Regions from separate parts of the Homo sapiens genome. Here all the other regions are linked to region 5. The links are contacts of gene promoters, found by promoter capture Hi-C in blood cells and fetal thymus (Javierre and others, 2016). All regions are on one chromosome and are shown on one strand. Each heading gives the region's core, a stretch centred on a gene start or on the middle of the fragment in contact. The rest is flanking DNA. Distances are from core to core; before and after follow the strand shown.

Region 1 (3,802 bases), core at 704-3,203, 360 kb before region 5:
ACATACTGCAGTTTTACTGAGGTCATAAAATTATATGAATACACAGTGGAATTCTACATATGGGGGCATAATCATTCAGGGAAAATGACTCCTATTATAAAACAGCCATGTGCGATGCCTCCAGCTTTGTTCTTTTGGCTTAGGATTGATTTGGCGATGCGGGCTCTTTTATGGTTCCATATGAACTTTAAAGTAGTTTTTTCCAATTCTGTGAAGAAAGTCATTGGTAGCTTGATGGGGATGGCATTGAATCTGTAAATTACCTTGGGCAGTATGGCCATTTTCACGATATTGATTCTTCCTACCCATGAGCATGGAATGTTCTTCCGTTTGTTTGTATCCTCTTTTATTTCCTCAAGCAGTGGTTTGTAGTTCTCCTTGAAGAGGTCCTTCACATCCCTTGTAAGTTGGATTCCTAGGTATTTTATTCTCTTTGAAGCAATTGTGAACGGGAGTTCACTCATGATTTGGCTCTCTGTTTGTCTGTTGTTGGTGTATAAGAATGCTTGTGATTTTTGTACATTGATTTTGTATCCTGAGACTTTGCTGAAGTTGCTTATCAGCTTAAGGAGATTTTGGGCTGAGACAATGGGGTTTTCTAGATATATAATCATGTCGTCTGCAAACAGGGACAATTTGACTTCCTCTTTTCTTAATTGAATACCCTTTATTTCCTTCTCCTGCCTAATTGCCCTGGCCAGAACTTCCAACAATGAGATACCATCTCACACCAGTTAGAATCGCAATCATTAAAAAGTCAGGAAACAACAGGTGCTGGAGAGGATGTGGAGAAATAGGAACACTTTTACACTGTTGGTGGGACTGTAAACTTGTTCAACCATTGTGGAAGTCAGTGTGGCGATTCCTCAGGGATCTAGAACTAGAAATACCATTTGACCCAGCCATCCCATTACTGGGTATATACCCAAAGGACTATAAATCATGCTGCTATAAAGACACATGCACACGTATGTTTATTGCGGCATTATTCACAATAGCAAAGACTTGGAACCAACCCAAATGTCCAACAATGATAGACTGGATTAAGAAAATGTGGCACATATACACCATGGAATACTATGCAGCCATAAGAAATGATGAGTTCATGTCCTTTGTAGGGACATGGATGAAACTGGAAATCATCATTCTCAATAAACTATCACAAGAACAAAAAACCAAATACCACATATTCTCACTCATAGGTGGGAATTGAACAATGAGAACACATGGATGCAGGAAGGGGAACATCACACTCTGGGGACTGTTGTGGGTTGGGGGGAGGGGGGAGGGACAGCATTGGGAGATATACCTAACGCTAGATGAAGAGTTAGTGGGTGCAGCGCACCAGCATGGCACACGTATACATATGTAACTAACCTTCACATTGTGCACATGTACCCTAAAACTTAAAGTATAATAATAATAAATAAATACATAAAAATAAAAAAATAGCCATGTGCTATGTAAATTGTTTTACTTTGGACACAACTGTGAGTCTGAAAAGAAATTATTTTATTAATAAAAGATATGTTCAACAGTCCGTCCTTCATGCCAAAAATTAGATTATTCCCTTATTTGATTGTTTGATTTGGATCACACTTAGTTGGGAACTCAGCATAGTTTATCATTAATGCTAATTATGAATTAAATCTTGACAGTCATTGGACCTCATAAAATAGATTTTTAAGCTTTGCTAAAGCATTTGTGAAAGTGAGACCTAAAATTAAACATATAATATTTTTTAAAAGTAGTCATTTTATTTCATTTTGGATAACTAGTGTCAGAAGTTTTCAAGTACATACTGTGAGTCAAACTGGTGCCTAACAGTTACACCAAAATTTTCAGACCACTCATCAGAGCTTTGTTGCAAATTTAAACATACTCCCTGCTACTCCAATCCTGTTGCCGTCTGGAGATACATACTTCCCTTGTTATAAGATACAGCCACAAATTAAGACTCTTAGGGAGAGAAAAATCATGATACTGACAGTTAGAAAAATGTCTCTGCCCCTGTCCATCAAGAACCATTACCACACAGCATCTGCAAAGGAGACTCTAATTAGAGAACATTCCCAATCATGTTTTAAAACATCCAGCAGCATGGCCACATGCAGGCAAACACTCCTGCACCATTAATCTTCATTCAAACTGTTAGGATGTTTGTCTAGGCTTGACCCAGACCAAGCACTACAGATAGATTAGCTAGAGTAAAGCTTCCATTTCTCACCACATGTCAAGGCAGGTGGAATATTCTGTTGAGCCTAGAAGGACATCTGGAGGTCTGTACCACAAGGTAACCACTTCGTTGGAGTATGTGTGGCTAGGGACGGATTTTGCTCTTGCAAGACCTGTGGGTTATATGAAACATAAAGAAGTTTAACAGGCATTAGCAAAACAAGGGAATTTAAATTTGAACGTTCACATTCTTAAAGGTCAAACCCGACCTTTTAATACAGAATCAGGAGTGCAGTATCAAGGTTAATAGAAAACTGGGGAAAGCATATTGTGGTTTCTGTTTTTAACACATGCTAATAACCATTAAAACATTTCTATTTCCTAATAAAGCACTGATGTCATGAATCTAATAAAATATCAGCAGAGTAAACAAATAATTCACAAACTATCATAACACAGGAGCTTAGAAGTCTCTTGAATTTTTCAGATTTATAAGTATTGTGAGAAAGGGTTCCTTGGTCAAATAACTGAGAAAAAACAGATTTAGAAACTTAAAGAATCCTTAAATTGTGAAACTTCTCAGTTTTCTTAATTGTTCTAATGCGTATTGTGAATCTGCAAGAGGAGAGTATAATACTTTCCCCAAAGAATTGTCCTAAAATTTCTTGTGGTTTCAGTGTTCTGTCAAATACTCACTAGGAAATGCTTATTGCAGAAGCTCTTTTGAAAAAACATCTAAATAAATAACTATAAAGGAATAGTCAAATCTGGTACATACATTGATGAGATTATATATGATAAATTAAAATGTCCTCTAAGAATTTTTTTAAACTGGGAAGATGTTAAGTGAAAAGGTATACGCAATTTGACCTCATAACCATAAATACTCATGCACAGAAAAAATATTTGTAGGTCTGTTTTTTTTTCCCTCTAAAAAAAAAAAAGGGCCGGGCGCGGTGGCTCACGCCTGTAATCCCAGCACTTTGGGAGGCCGAGGCGGGCGGATCACGAGGTCAGGAGATCGAGACCATCCCGGCTAAACCGGTGAAACCCCGTCTCTACTAAAAATACAAAAAAATTAGCCGGGCGTAGTGGCGGGCGCCTGTAGTCCCAGCTACTTGGGAGGCTGAGGCAGGAGAATGGCGTGAACCCGGGAGGCGGAGCTTGCAGTGAGCCGAGATCCCGCCACTGCACTCCAGCCTGGGTGATAGAGCGAGACTCCGTCTCAAAAAAAAAAAAAAAAAAAAAAAAGAAAAAAGTTTGGCAGAAAATACATTTAAATGTCTTCAGTGGTTACCTCTGGAATATGGGATTATCTTTATTTTTTAGTAAGTTTTTCTGAGTGTTTTCCCAAGATTTGTGGAATGAATGTGCAATTATTTTAAAAATCACAAAATCTATAGATGTCATTTTTTAAAAGAAAAAAACCTGTGTGACAGCTTTCTATCTAGCTGTATTCATTAGTGACAAGTATAAAGTATTATTTACTGTTATGTTTATAGCACTTAAAACATTTTTACAGTGAACCTACCATAACATATTCATTTTAATGTTCTATTTAAAAATTTTTATGTAGTAAGGAAATGGCTTTTTCTTATTTATTAAATGTAGCATTCCATTTTCAGTA
Region 2 (3,770 bases), core at 106-2,605, 460 kb before region 5:
AGTCTCCATCATTACTGATGCCCTCTAGTGAAAATAAATGTGAAATTCTTCAAGTACATCCAGACAAAGTACAGATTGTCCCTCCTTTGTACTGAAATGGGTTTACAACATTCCTACAGGGATTTCCCTTCTTAACCTACCTATTGTAGGGGAAATGAATTGCTAATTTTACATTTTTAAGTGATTATCAAGGTTTTTGGTTGTTTCTTTTTTATTTTTATTTCATATCGTTGGCCATATCTACGATTTATTTTATAACAAATCCCTGGTCAGCTATGGACCTATGAGGAAAAATATCCTTTGTGTCTCTGGCATCACTGCTAACTGGTAGGAGAATAATTTCCCTGTGAGTTAGTACTCGCTTTTATAGACCCTTCTTGACCCAGGGCTGCAGGCAGAAATGACCAATCAAGAGGATTTCACACTTCAGATGAAACCTCTTTCCAGCTCTGAAATGAGTCCGTGACTTTTTGTAGCCTGTAGGTCTTTCTGAAAACATAAAGCATTGATTTCTTCCTCTCTTCAAAACCCTCCGATGATTCCACTCACACTTCAAGTAAAATCCTGACTCTTCACCTTGGCTTTCCAAGGACCTGCCCCCCTGAATTGTTTCTTGCCGCTGTCCCTGTGCTCACAGGCATGGTAAGTTGTAATTTGTCTATTATTAGTCCCCTCTCTAGCATGTGAGCTCTGCAAGAAAAAGGATTCATCCGCTTTGTTCAAACTGCATCTTTAGCACCCACAATACTGCCTGGCACCTAGTAAGCACTCAACAGGAATCCAAGCTCATAAGCAGATGTAAAGCAGTTACTGCTGATGCAAACACCGACTCTCAACTTTAGCATCTGCTCTCCAGCAACCACCAGTGACCTCCCAGTATGGCTGGCTCAACCAGAAAGTGCAGTCTGCCCTTCCTGTCATGTTTACATATTTTACTTCCTTAGCTTTATAATGTTCACATAGTTCATAAATTTAGTAATTAACTGGCTTTTTCACTATGTGATTAAAGCAGCATTTATTTGTGGGAGGAGGGACAGCAAAGTTCACAAAGGTGATAGCTGATGGTGGGTGGGGAGAGCTCTAAATACCCTAAGGCTTGTGTCAAGCAGACCCACAAGGCTTTTAGCAATAAAATCTGAGATAAAAAGCAGATATTTACGTAATAATTTTTAAAGTCCATTTTAATAACCATCACATAGTTACAGCCCATACACCTAGACCTAACCCATAATCATTATAGTTGCTATCAATCATAAAAATAATTTAAAATTCCTGAGGTAAAGTGTAAAGAGTAAGTGGGAAAGGAGATAGCAGGCAGAGCACATGGTATATAAATGGTAAAAAAAAAAAAAAAAAAAAAAATTATTTTGCAGTTACATGCCCCTAACAGTTTAAAAGTACTTTTATATCAATTATGTCAGCTAGCTCAAATCTGCTTAAAAATAGGTAGAGTATAAATAACAAATATTGAAGGGAATGTAAAAATAGTTTATCTCATTTAATTTACGTAGCAAGTCTGTAGGCTGGATGGAGCAGACATGACTCTTCTAGAAGAGTAAGGAAGGTATCTCAGCACTTCACAGGCCTCCCCTCACTGCAGGTGTGGTCTGTGCAGGGCAACATCATGGCACAAAGAGCCCCCCCGCAGTCTTCCTGCATGGAATATCCCACCCCGACAACAATTTCTGCTGCATCCACAGCTTTTCTATCACCTTCTAAAAGACTCAGGAAAAGCCAAGAATGTCAATAAAGGCTAAGGGTTCAAACATCCTCACATCTGCAAATGAGGAAAGTGGGCAGTTCCGATAGTATGTGTTAAGGACTACACATCTGAGACTAAACATCTGCAGAGGAGATTTTGGAGCTGATGATTTATTGGAGGCATAGGTTTAAAGGGCGGAAGAATATGCCCATACCTAGCAAGTGGAGGGTGGATCTGGTATGTACAAGAAGACAGAGGTCTTTTCCAAGATGCCACAAGACAGAGTTGGGAAGAGCCTGACAATTCTCCTTCGTAGGTCTAGGTCTGTGGGCAGGGAAGCTCTCTTAAAGAGAGGAGGAGGCATCACTGAGAATGGCTTAGAGTTGAAAGACCTGGGTTTGAGTTTTGGCTCTGCTACAGCCTGGAGGGATGAGATCTCTGGGCAAACCACACTATCTCTCTGAGCCTCAATTTCCCAGTTTCTTCATCTGTAAATGGGATAACAATATTAGGAAAAAAGCATTATTATAATGCAGTTATTCTAACTATCAAATGAGATAATATATTAAAATGCTTTGTAAATAATAAAATATAGCATAAAACGTAAGGTGTTATCACCATAGTATTTTATTTCTGAAATGATTTACTTCCTCCCTCTGGAACAAAAAAGTGTGGACCTGTTTGGTTTTGGGGTCCCAGTCAGGCCAGAGAAGAGGAAGGACTTAAAGAGACGGCTTTTTTTTTTGCCTCATTACAAAGCCTTGATACAGCTAAGTCCGTATGTAAACATTCCCTTTAAGGTCAATGTGTCTGTAGGATTAGTTTTTAGCAGAGTGTGTTTAAAATATCACCATTCCCCAATTGCCTCCAATGGCAAATTCTTTATATTATTTCATTCGTTGGGAGACAGTCCATTTTCTTCAAAGTTTCCTGAATCAAATAGTCTTTTCCATTGGCTAACTTTTCCTTAGAAGTAATATAACCACTTTAGAAATGCTCTATTCTCTTGCTTGATTTTGGAAAATATAATTATTTTATTCTAAATTTCATCACTTTTAATTGCTTCTGGTCTAGCAGCATTTTTTTCCTCACTGAACTTCACAGTGTATTCCTTTTTGAGCATCTGAATAATCCATTAAATAGTTTTTGAATGTACCTTTCCCTTTTGTTGGAAGCATTTGAGAGATGAAAGTATCATACATGGAATCTACACATTATTTCAGTGCTAAACCATTTTATACGAAGTGTTATTGGTGGTTTTGTGTAGATATTTTACCAAATACAGAGATCAGATCCTCCCTACTTCTCTGCTTTTTAAAATAGTCTAATTGTCAGTAAACTGTTCTTTAGCAGGGCAATGAGAAATTGTAATACACATTCAGTAGAATGCTATTTCATAATGAAAGCTGGAAAACAAAAACACAAACACACTCAGGAAGTGAGACCCAGGGAGACCTGGAATCTACTTCCACCTCTGACACTAATGTTAGGGAAGTTCTTTAACATCTCTGGACCTCAGGTTCCTAACTTCACAAGAAGAAAGCCAGACTAGATGCTCCCTGGGGTTCCCTCTAGCTCAAACATTCACTTTGCTTAAGGCACAATCAAACACCACTCGCACTCTCAGCTCATGCAGCCCCAGGGTACTCTTTGACAGCTAGAAATTACAAAGCCTTGACAGAACTCTTCATCCATTACTCTGATTCTACTGGTCTGGAGAACCTCAAATGTCTACGTGTATTCCGCCCTGATCTGGGGTTACCACAATTCTATGAAGCTTAAACAACCCCTCAAACATGCATGCAAGATGCATCTTTTAAAAATGATAAGTCTGTCTTATAACAGCAACAAAAAAATTGCACTGTCACTTTAGCAGAGACATATGAACCACAGCACCTGTCGATGGGATGTAGCAGGGGGTAAACCTGGTAGAAGAAAGTGATCCTGGGATTCACATAGGGGAGCCTCTCATTATCCCAGGAGGAATTTATAGCAGAGAGCCTTATGCAAAAGCCTCCTGTTAGTGAATAACTATGAACCCATGAAAAGGAATATGATTTATTTTTAC
Region 3 (3,839 bases), core at 514-3,013, 420 kb before region 5:
CAGTTCTCTTATGTTCATGATACAGACAAGGGTCAGGAAGTGAAGTTCATTGTATGAGGACAAACAGCTAGTAAATGGAAGAGGAAGAAGAAGAATGGGGAGCTCACACCCAAAGGCCTAGGTTCTTTCTACAAGATCACACTGCTCCTCAGGCTTTAGAACAAAGATGGCTTCCTTTCCTTCCTGTTTCTTTTGCTTCCTTTGTACTGAAGATTTCAAATTTATCCAGTATGTATGTACTTGCCATTTACGTCATCAGTTATAAATTCACTCAGAAATACCACTGTCCCCCATGCCTCTTTTAGGAAACATGGTCACATTTATATGTCTGCTGTTTGCCAGCACAACCTCTGTCTGATGCACAGTAGATCTAATTTGGTTTCATCCAATCCCCGAAATTGGATGAAGCTGGTTTGCAGCCCATTTTTAGTTATGAAAATAATCTGGAAGGCTGGCTAGCATTTGTACCCTAGTGGCCCTGTAATTCAAAAGGGCTTGTTATCTCTGTGCACAGATTCACCTACTCAGAGAACAAAAGCAATATCAGAACACACTGGTGTTAGCCCTTCCTAAAAGAGTTATGTGAAGGCAGAGCCCTTCCAGACGCTGTGATACTCATCCATCATATAGCAGTGCCCATTTATTCTGTCTATGTCAAACACAAACACCTATCGACCATCTGAAGTAATCAATAATAGCAATACACAGACCAAAAGTCCATCATTCAGGCAGCACCACCAAGCACCTACTGCTGAGCCTAAAGTGTATATGAAAGCTGACCTGGAGATACCTTGTTTTAAAAGAGTTCATCTCTCTAAAAGCATTTTAAACTCCAACTTTAAAAATTATTAGGAAAATATCACATATGAAAAACAAAATAACAATTAACAATATTTGAGAGTATTTAATAAAAAGTGAGTCTGTTAGCATAGGCCCAGTCCTGAGCCCTGTAAGAAACCACCAGCTAGAAATCCTCCCTGCATGCCCTGGATATTGTATCATGTCCATCTGTTTAGCCACTTTCTCTTCCTTCCTCTAATGTGAACTTAGACCTAGTTTGTACTTAGCTTTTTTCCTTTATATATCTTAAAGAGCTTCTTCTATTGGAGAAAACAGTGGGGAATAAATTCTTAAGTCAATCACTCTTAAAAAGTGAAATATATCTCACTAAGAAGTATTAACTTCATAGAAAATAGACCTGTGTACTTAAATTATTTTTGCTCATTACAAATACATTCCAGCAGATAAAGTGAAGAAAGGAAACACCACTGGGGGCTCAAGAACAGTCAAAAAAGAGCCCCATAGGAATTTTGCCTGCCTTCTTCCTTAATATCATTTTGTTGCTTATTTCCCTTTCTTCTTTTTCTTAATAGGAAAAATAGGCCCAATGAAGTTTTTGGGAGGCTTTCGCAAAGGTCCCTTCTAGGTCATCTTCTGTGCCTTCACTGGTGTATGCGAAGTTACTATAGACAATGCTTTGTTTAGTTTTGTTTGAAAGTTTGGCTTATGAAAAAATATCACTCCTATTCCTCTAATAGAATCTAGGTTCCGAAACCTTAAAACATGCTATAGATGATGAATATAAAAACTACCTAGCATACATAGTAGCAGTGGATTTGCCACAGCAAGGTCAGAGATAAATATGTTATTCAAATTTCAAACGCACCCTACAATTCTGCTTAAGACCTGAACTGCAAAGCTCTCAAGAAGTACTCCCTCAACATCTGAAATAATTGAAAACCAGGTTGGGTGGGCTGAGGAGGGGTAGTTAAAATGCATAACTCACTTTCAAAAGAGGTTGATAGTCTAGCTGGAGCCATATGGTACCATAAAACAGGGTATAATCTAAATTTAAGTATCTATCTAGTTCATTGTACCACCTAGGATAATGGCTTGATGGCTTTTCATCAATATATGAGAGCATGTTTAGGACCGTCTAAATTGAGGAATACAAAATTCAGTCTGTGATTCCTGAAAGGCCACAAAAAATCATGGTAAAATGAGAGGCGTGTGTAAAGGGTGATTGGTAGAAACAAACATGTTAGAGTACTATGTTTTGTCAGCAGAGAAAACACATTGGTTTTCAAATATTCTCAAATCAAAATTCATAATGGAAGAAGTGCTAACCTACAGGCATTGTTCTGAAGGTAGATACTGGTTGTAGGGCTGCTTTTCTTGTGGGCAGCTCTATGTAGCTCCACACAACATCCTCCAGGGTGTTAGCAGCAGGGATCTATTTATTTAATGATGGTTCATATAGGCATTGCTCACTTTAGGTCAGTTATCCATATCTGAAAAGCCAATGTTCTCCATGAAAATACTGATAACCTATTTCCCATTACTTTAAATGAGAAATATTTTGATATAGTACATGTCAACCCCAAAATCCCAATCAACTTCCCAAAATGTAATTAAAACATAGTAATCTGCTAACATGTAAATCATCAACTATCATTTTAGGATGCTTGTTGAAAATCTAACAAATATTTTTGTGAAATGTTTATATGCCTTTTTTTTTTGGTATATAAACACAGAACTGATTCATACCCATATTCCATGAAGTAAGGTATAAAAAAACCAAGACAACCCCATCTCTACTAAAAAAAATACAAAAAATTAGCCGGGCATGGTGGCGGGTGCCTGTAGTCCCAGTTACTCGGGAGGCTGAAGCAGGAGAATGGCTTGAACCCGGGAGGCGGAGCTTGCAGTGAGCCGAGATCATGCCACTGCACTCCAGCCTGGGCAACAAAGCGAGACACAGTCTCAAAAAAAAAAAAAAAAAAAAAAAACCCAAGACATACTCTGCTGGGGTAGGGAGACCCAACAAACCTATTCATTGGGAAGATGAATGCTACAGGATACATCTTCAATTATTGTGAGCAATTCTGGGAGCAGATGGCATATAGGGTAAGTACAATCTGTTTGATCTGAATTGCCAGTGAAGAGTAATTATGAAAAGGAAGAGCATCCTGGGGCTAAAGACCCCATAGCAGTGAAGAATGTACAGAACTTGGGTAAGGGAGTGAAAACAGGGAGTGTCTTGAGGAAGGAGTTAATGCTCAAGGAAAGAAAAATAAGAATGACCTTAATTAGTAAGAAAACTGATCTGATTTGTTAAAGAGGAACAATGGGCAAGTAAGGTTGACACAGATAAGAAGAGATTAAAGTATCTGGACTTCATATAAAGCAGAAAAAAAATTAGCAAAAACACAAATAGATTAAGGCAAAGTCAAATGACACATTACACAGAATATTATCTATTACATAAAGATAGATAGACTCCTATAAGAGAAAAATACTAAGTATGCTAATAAGGAAAATTAGTGACAATGGACATAGGTTTCAAAGACTTAGCTGCAAGCAAGCAATATGAATTTTCATATCAACAAGGAACTAATCATAGACTTTGAAAAACTGAAAGGGGATTTCACAGTTGGCCCTTGCCCCAGTCAACCAGGCATCTTTAGAAATGGTCGGTCCATACAGCTAGGCAGGTGGACACTCAGGCTCCTCACCCATGCTGGGGCGTGCACCATAATGGAATTTAATATTTATATCTGAAATCGAACAAACTTCTATTAGTAACAATACACATAGCTAACCTTTACTGGCAGCTAACCTACTTTAATGACAATGAACCCATGGTATGGCTGTTTGATATATTAGCTTGCTTAGTGCTTTCAGAATCCCTATGCTTGTTTAATACTACTGCTACCTCTACATCACACTTAGCTTGGTCACAACATAGTCTTCTAATAAAAATAAGGGAAAAATCATCATCATTGTATGTTTTATAGTTGGTAACTCTAAACTCATTTATTAAAACTCTTGGAAAAAGA
Region 4 (3,841 bases), core at 69-2,568, 420 kb after region 5:
GGATAAAGGCAGAATGCCAAAGTGGGTGGCAAACTTTTGGCAGTATTCTGGGTTTTCTTAAACACAATGCACATTCTTTTTCCTTTATCCCCTTAGAAGCGAAAAATGAAACTCACCAACTTTTATGGAACAAATTTAGTTCAGCCTTCAGCTGACCTAGTGTTCTTTTTTTCTGTAGTTACCTCATGTAGAAGATTCTTGAGCATTCTTGTGTAAGATTATTAAAAAATATATTTTGCTCCTTTTTTTTTGGTATGACTTTGCAGTATACCAGTGTAACTTAACAATAAAATTCCTCTTTTCATGTCACAAGTTTGGTTGCCCTAGTTTAAAATTATATGTTGAATTATGAAAATCAAGCATTTATTTACCAAGGAGAAAAGAGAATTCTACTTTGGAATTGTTTATATAGGCTTAGTGTAATTTCCCACTCATATTTTTTTCCTAACAAGTGGTCTGGAAAGCCATTCCTCCTCTACTAGTGATATTATACAAATGTAAAGAAAATCTGAAATCATTTTTATTTTCACTGACTTCTCATGAATGAATCCCAATTTCTGTATTATTTGCTGAAAAGAATGAAAAGATTGATTTTGTCAAAATGCACTACTGTGAGGAAAGAAACGTGGTTTGCGATTGAATAATAGAGTAAAATACTGGCCTATATTAAAATAGTTGGCCTTAAAGAAAATTCGGAGAGACTAGATTTGGATTGTACATATAAAAACAATATGTTATTTCTCTAGCCTATGTAATATAGATTTAGAAAACTAGTTAAGTATAGAAAGCTTAGGCAATAATGGGCTATTTTGTAGTTGCATTTCAAGTTTTTGAAACAATTTTCATTAAGTTTCACATTAGATTTGCTTTTTGTTAAGTTAAAAAATAAATCTCTAAAAGGAAGAAATGGTGGCTGTTCACTCAAAAGCATATCTCACTATCTTGACTAGTCCATGGGATTTTAATAGTTATTCTGGAAATACTTTTGAAGAGGAACTATCAATGAAGTTTTGCTTAATTGTTAGGGCTGGGTATCTAAAAACTGAAGTGAAACCCAGAGATGGGTCAGGAAGTCGTAGTGGTGACTAACAGAGGTGACTAATGGAGGTGTCAGATTGTTCATGGCCTTCTGTGCCACCAGAAAGAATTTTGCCATAAAGTATTTATGAGCAGTCATTGAACAATGCCTGGATGTGGGTTTTTAAGTGTCTCTTTTCCTAGCACTGTTACATACTCTATTCTTTTGGTAACCCGAAGCAGTCGCAGAACTTACTGAGCTGGTGAGCTCATTAGGCCAGGACTGAAGATTCTGCCAGGCGTGGGGAGATTTGCTTTGTTTTGCACCTTTGGACTCTTCTCCAAGCCTTCCAATGACACAGATGTACATACTTTATCACAAACAGGAGAAAACACGAGAGTATAGAAGGATTGGTGCTGAGCTGTCAGCATGACATGGTGGCACCAGTACTGGCTACAAAGTCAGGAGGCCTGCCTCCCAGCCCTTGTTCTGCCACCCACAAGCTCATGACTCTGGAAAAGTCTCCGTATGCTGGCTTCATTGTCAGTTATCAGGGAGACTTCATAGGGGTTTATAATTTGAAATGATGCTAGTTAGCATTTACAGATATTATATTGGATTACAGATATTAGATTATAGATTATATTACAGATATTGGATTATAGATGTGTAGACATTAGAATGTCTTCGTATAAATGCTGCTTCTTATGAGAGACGGATGCTAGCTGGATTTTAGAGAAGCAGTTGGGTGATGATACATTGGCACCAGCCCATTTATAGCTGGGACCAGAATTATAATTGCCTCTTTCCCTTCAGAACATGAAGCTTTGTGAGAAAAATGATAATTTTAGTACACTTAGCTCACTATTGATGACATCCCTTCTAGCAATACCATCTACTGCCCAGCTTTTTCTAGAGCCAAATCTTAGCAATGTGCATAATCACCTACTTTGTCTCCTCAATTATTTGGAATCAGATTCTTCTTTCCAAAGAAAAAAGTCTGTTTCTTCCTTATGGAAGTTTTTGGGATTTTTCTCTTTATCCTTGGTGGCCTGAAGTTCCATCAAGCTTGCAAAGGCGTGCATTCCTCCCCTCCCTCCTCAGCCCCTTCATCTTACAGAGGTTTTGCTCTGAAGTCTAGTGTCTTTCTCTAGCTCCAAGAAATTTCCCTCCATTATTTATTTGTTTTCTTATTTTATTGCTTCTATTGCATCCTTCTGAAACTTACACAATGGGTATTTGAGATCATTTGGGTCTCTTTTCATGCCCCTTAACTCTTCTTTAAAGTTTTCCATTTTATGAATTTTTTCTTTTGAACTGTGTTCTGGGAGAATCCCTCAGTTTAGACGTTTAGTTCTGTAAATTAATCTTCAGCTATATCTATTTTGGAAATTAGTTTCCCTATTAATATGTAAAGTTTTCTCCTTTTTGGATCCTGGGTGTAAATAGTTAATCACACCATCTTAATTCATAGCACAGTTTTATAATTTGCCCATGTGTCTTGTTTCATTCATTCATTCATTTTTAATTTGTATAAATTTAGGGAATACAAGTTCGTTTTCTTAAATGGTTATATTACATAAAGGTAAAGTTTGGGCTTTTAGTGTAACCACTACCCAAATAACGTACATTGTACCTACTGAGTAATTTCTCATCCTTTACTCCCCTCCTACCCCTCTGAATCTTTTGAGGCCTTAGTCATGAATTCTTTGTCTAGGCCAATGTCCAGAAGAGTTTTTCCTAGGTGTTCTTCTAGGATTTTTTTAGTTTTGGGTCTTAAATTTAAGTCTTTAATCTATCTTGGGTTAATTTTTGTATATGGTGAGAGATAGGGGACCAGTTTCATTCTTCTACATTTGTCAACTTGGTTAAAGATGAGTTGGCTGGAGGTACATGGCTTTACTTCTGAGTTCTCTATTTTGTTCTGTTTATCTATGTGTCCATTTTTATGCCAGTACCATGATATTTTGATTACTATATTTTTGTAGCATAATTTTTTTCTATTTCTTTTTTGTTCTTTTTTTGACTGACAGTTTACCCTGATAGAAAGCCTTGTAATATAATTTTAAGTCGGGTAATGTTGATGGCAGCAGCCGCCTGCCTGGAGTGGTGGCTGCGAAGACACCAGCTGCAGGTGGGGAGGCGCTGCCTTGGCTTTGAGCTTCATGGAGCTGGTGAGAGCTGGGAACAGGCAGAAGCCTCATGCCCTTCCGAATTGGCAGTGCAGAAGCCTCAAGCTTCCCAGGTACAGCTGCAGCCACCCAAGCCACAGCTGTGGACCTGGGCATACCTGTGTTCTTGGGGGCCCAGGAAGCCCCTCTGCCCCCTCAGGCTTGGAGGTGTCTGCTCCCACAGCCTGGCTTCTCCCCACTCCTGGTGCCTGCTCTGATCTTGAAGCAAAATTGAGGCTGAGCCTGGGTGCTGTCACAATCTGGGTGGGTGCACATGCTTGGAGCAGTGCTGACACACCAGACCCCTGCTGCCTTGGCGCCCTTCAGACTTTGGGTATCAACAAGCACGGGAGAGGGTGAGGGGGGTTGCTGAAGGCAGCTCGGCACTGGCCTGCAGTTGCCTCTTGGCACAAACAGCCTGAGTGCTATGGATGACAGCAGGAGGCAGGGCAGAAAGAGGCAGGTCCCTAGTGAAGCCCCACCTTTGAGCCATGGATGGCCTGAATCCAGAGGCCTGGCTGAAGAGCCAGGATGGGAACTTATGGTGCTTTCTCTGGGCTCCCCATGGCCACCCATGAACCAACCACCACCCCTTCCTCCCCTCTGAAGCCCATAAAACCCCTGGGCTCAGCCAGATCAAGGAGATGATCAG
Region 5 (3,823 bases), core at 1,127-3,626:
TAATCAGAATGAGTTCACTGGTTTTAATTTTGCAAATACAATATAAAACATCAAGAAAATAAGAAGATACAGATTTTGTTTCTGTAATGCTACTTTGAATGTCGTTGGCTTGGTATACAACTATAATCACTTCAATATCTCCTATTACAATACTCCATAATGAGATCTACGATTCAGAATCATATTTTCCATCAATACAAGAAATAATCAGCTGTGCTCACTGCACTGCATTCTGTGTCCTAAAGGGAGGATATAAAATCCACCAGCTCTTAGAAGACATTTTAACAAGAGTTGGATTCAAAAGGAGTTTCACATCACTAAATCTCAGTAAGCTAGAAAATCCAATTAACTATAATACCCCCATTTGCCAGCACTGTACTTAATCCAAATTTTACTGATTGTCGATCAAAACCTTGAAATTATTTAAATATAAGGAACTTTTAGATTAATGTCCTTGGTTTCTTACTGAGACTCAATTGCAATGAATTATTTAACACAAAACTGGAGGGGCTCCAGCAGAATCATTAGCATTAGTAAATATATAGTTAATGTGTTTTAGAACACGGCTTAATGGACTCCAGAACCCGCCTCTGCGACGGTTTGGGTCAGGGTTGAAACATCCTCGTTAATAATGCACACGACTCAACATTTCCCTCTCTCACACTCTTCTTGGCTTCAAACTTCATCTTAATGCAGGGACTCTCCACATGTATCCCTAATTCTGAAGAGTGAAATTAATATCCAATACATGCAATAAATAAAACTAAAGATTGGTTTCATACCATAACTTTACAGTCATCTGGGGAAAGATTTTGCATACCAACACAAAATTTTAAGTCGAAAGACAAAAAAAAAAAAAAAAACTTGGCTAAATTTCGATCCATTGTACTCTCTCACTTGAAGAAAGTTTGCATATCTTACAATGAATGGGTGGAAGGATATCTGTAACACTCATGTGCATCCCAGGGTTTTATTTTAAGGAATTAAGTACCTTTATGTTTAATTTCCATTAACACTTTCGTTAACATGGATGACATTTAAAACAAGTGAAACAAAGACTAGGCAGCTTCCTAGGGACTCGCAGGGGTTATCTTTTGTGTCTATAGCATTCTCTTGCTCAGGGCAGTTACATGTTATTAGTGAAAGTTGTGACAGTAGGGGAGGCAGCTAACTCTTCAGGTTAAAAGGGGTTTTCTATGCCCAGTACTCAAAATCTAACAAACCCATTCCACGTGATACTGCTGTCACCCTATTACAACCTGTGACATGCATTTATTCGTCACTGTCCTAAACACTGTTGGTCAGTTGGTTTGTTGTTTGGTTTAAAGACAACAGCCCCTGAGCTCTATTAAATGGAACAAGTTCGAGAGACATTCCTAAATGTCCAGACAACTCCACAGCGCGCATTTCTCTCCAGCAGCGGGAAGATTCAGAGACCTCGAGACTGAACACCCAAATCTCGCTTTCCAGGACCCGAAGTACCGAACAATAGGTCCCAAGGTAACTGTCCCACTTCCCTTTAGGTTGGATACGTTAAACAATACCAGGGCACAGTCTAACGTTTCACCAATTTCCAAAGCTAAATTACTGACTAAACGCCCAATATCCAAGCCTGTGCGCAAAAAATAACAAGTGGCCCAAGCAGCCGCGCAGCCCCTTGCGCGGTGGGGGCCGAGGGGTCCCCTCGCCCGTCCCCCACGCGCGCGAAAGGGCGAGCACTAGTGGCGGAGGAGGGGAGAACCCATATTGTAGGCTTGAGAGAATCTACAAATGAACCCCCAGATCCTGAGGAAGAGGGGTCTCTTTCCTTTACGTCCTTGCCCTCCCCCGGGTCCCTAGCACTGTGCCCTCGATCCCCGCCTACAACGCACCCCACGCCAGCCCCGCTGGCAGCTGCATGGCTGGTGCCAGGAACGCGGCGGGGGCGCAGGCCGAGGGGAGCGGGCGCTGGGGGGGCCGGGGGCAGCGCGCTACTCACCAATGCGACTGAAACTCTCCGACAAAGTTCTCCGCAACTTCTTCATCTTGCCGATCTTCTCGGCCGGCTGCGGCTCAATGAGGTCACACATCTGGGCGACGCGGAGCCCCGACAACTTCCCCAAACTGGTCCAGGCACAGCTCAGACAACGGCGAGGGCGCGCGCCGCGGGGAAAGCGGCGCCTCCTCCTCCACCACCTCCTCGGCGGGCCGGGAAGCGACGCGCAGGTCTAGGGAGGCGAGCAGCAGGCAGGCGGAGGACGGCAGGCTCCGCTCCGGCCTGGGCCGCAGCTGGGCGGGCGGGGGCGGTTTACGTGGTGCCGGGGGCGGCCGCGCTCGCCGCCGCCGTGGTGGCCCCGCGCCGCGCCGCCGCCGCCCGGCTCATTTTCCCTCCTTTGTAACGGAGAGAAGCGCGGCCGGCAGGGGGAGTGGTGCGGCCGAAGGAGGAGGCGGGGCGGGCCGGGTACAAGGTGCGGGAGTCGCCTGGCGCCGAGTGCGCGGGGCGAGGGCGAGTGGGCCGGCGGGAGAAGTTCTCAGCCCAGAGTTGCGGGCGCAGCGCAGAAGGAGCCGCGGCGCGGAACCGCCAGCCTGACAGCTCCTGCTGCCCTCCTGCTGCCGCCGCCACGCCCCTCCCTCGACGAAGGCCCCTGGGCGCGGGATCCTAGCACGACCTCGGCTCCCCGCTCGCCTCCCGCGTCCTCCGCGGCCCTCTGTGTCTGGCTCGCGCCCCGGCGGCGCCCCCTCCCGGCCGCGCCCCTCCCGGCCGCCCCCGCGCTCCTCCCCCGCCCCGCCCGCGCGCGGGAGGATCACGAAGGGACCGGGGTGGGAGCGGGCAGCGTCTGGGGACAGCGTGTTGGGCTGTGGGGAGGTTACCGAAAGGAAACGGGCCGAGTCCAGTTGTTTGAGCGGTTTTCTCCTTCCACGAGCGTGTGTGAAAAAGCGCGGAGTTCGGTGGAGGGCAGCTGCCAGGACTGCCTCCTGGACTGGGTGCGGTAAGGCCTTAGGGATGCATTCAGATGTAGGGTGCCTTATTTTGGGCCGAGAAAGCTGTCAAGTGAAAGATCCAAGGGGAAAGGTGGGCCTGGATTTTTTTGTTGTTGTTTGCGGTGGGTTTTTTGTTTGTTTTGAGGTCAAGTGCAGAAGCAGCGGAAGCTTCAACTGTAACCCTCCAGAAGGCAGGGATCATGCTGTTTCCCTCATCCTTGTCTCTGATCTTGGTGACACATGTAGGTGATTTCTGATAGGAATACCCAGTTCTGCAGTAAATAGCAGACACAGCCCTTGGTCTTTTTCTATTAAATTCTTAGAATATATTTCTGAATTGGGAGATTTAAAGGCTAAACAGATTCCGACCTCCTTTTCCCCCACCTCAAAAACAGAACTTTAAAAAGGAGTGGGGGAGGTGTTTATAAAATCCCAGGACAAACAGTTCCAGCAGCGAACACACATCGTCTTCATTCTGAAAAAACCTGGTGCGGCGTGAGTTCCAAACGTCAGTCTCCCAGGGGAGAGAGAAGGAAGGTGGGGGAGGGCTTGATTGTGTTGATCTGAGGCCAGCAAACTCCTTATGAATAGAAACGTTAGTAATCTTGAGTCATTTGGCTGTGTAAGTAATAAGAGCTTGTGAGGGTGTGACAATGCTGTTTGGCTTGTAGGAAATTTTGGGGAGTTTATGTTTTGTTAAAAGATTTTTATCTTAAAAACTAGCCCCCTGCCTTCCTTAAATTGTGAGGTAAAACAGTGATTTGTTCCGCCCTACACTGAGCACATTGTAGGATCTTGATAGATTGCGGATGATAAAAGACAGGAAGTCAAGCTAAGTGGGGAGCAGAGGGGGGCAAGGAAT

The links. The method cuts DNA at HindIII sites, captures the fragments that hold promoters and counts their contacts. A CHiCAGO score of 5 or more calls a contact.
Region 1: a fragment that was not itself captured here is called in contact with the fragment with the promoter of CDK14 in region 5 in 1 of 17 cell types (total B cells); the score reaches 5.4 in total B cells.
Region 2: a fragment that was not itself captured here is called in contact with the fragment with the promoter of CDK14 in region 5 in 2 of 17 cell types (total B cells and naive B cells); the score reaches 6.2 in total B cells.
Region 3: a fragment that was not itself captured here is called in contact with the fragment with the promoter of CDK14 in region 5 in 1 of 17 cell types (naive B cells); the score reaches 5.1 in naive B cells.
Region 4: a fragment that was not itself captured here is called in contact with the fragment with the promoter of CDK14 in region 5 in 1 of 17 cell types (monocytes); the score reaches 6.9 in monocytes.

What each region holds. Positions count from the first base shown.
Region 1 is chr7:90,954,243-90,958,044 of GRCh38, reverse strand. It overlaps CDK14 (cyclin dependent kinase 14), which reads right to left. Exons shown (of 15, transcript NM_001287135.2): 9 at 2,228-2,348. Among named protein-coding and RNA genes, the nearest start is that of FZD1, 310 kb to the left of the region's middle. The HindIII fragment of the contact is 525 bases long and covers 1,691-2,215 here.
Region 2 is chr7:91,051,681-91,055,450 of GRCh38, reverse strand. All of the region lies in intron 11 of CDK14 (cyclin dependent kinase 14), which reads right to left. Among named protein-coding and RNA genes, the nearest start is that of FZD1, 210 kb to the left of the region's middle. The HindIII fragment of the contact is 4,253 bases long and covers 1-3,481 here.
Region 3 is chr7:91,014,472-91,018,310 of GRCh38, reverse strand. All of the region lies in intron 10 of CDK14 (cyclin dependent kinase 14), which reads right to left. Among named protein-coding and RNA genes, the nearest start is that of FZD1, 250 kb to the left of the region's middle. The HindIII fragment of the contact is 5,554 bases long and covers 1-3,839 here.
Region 4 is chr7:90,176,390-90,180,230 of GRCh38, reverse strand. All of the region lies in intron 2 of STEAP2-AS1 (STEAP2 antisense RNA 1), which reads left to right. Among named protein-coding and RNA genes, the nearest start is that of STEAP1, 24 kb to the right of the region's middle. RefSeq lists enhancers at 1,218-1,267, 1,278-1,337. The HindIII fragment of the contact is 1,055 bases long and covers 791-1,845 here.
Region 5 is chr7:90,594,874-90,598,696 of GRCh38, reverse strand. It overlaps CDK14 (cyclin dependent kinase 14), which reads right to left and starts at 2,376. Exons shown (of 15, transcript NM_001287135.2): 1 at 1,979-2,376. The coding sequence starts at 2,069. RefSeq lists silencers at 1,739-1,788, 1,849-2,048, 2,239-2,548, 2,569-2,768. The HindIII fragment of the contact is 4,165 bases long and covers 1-3,131 here.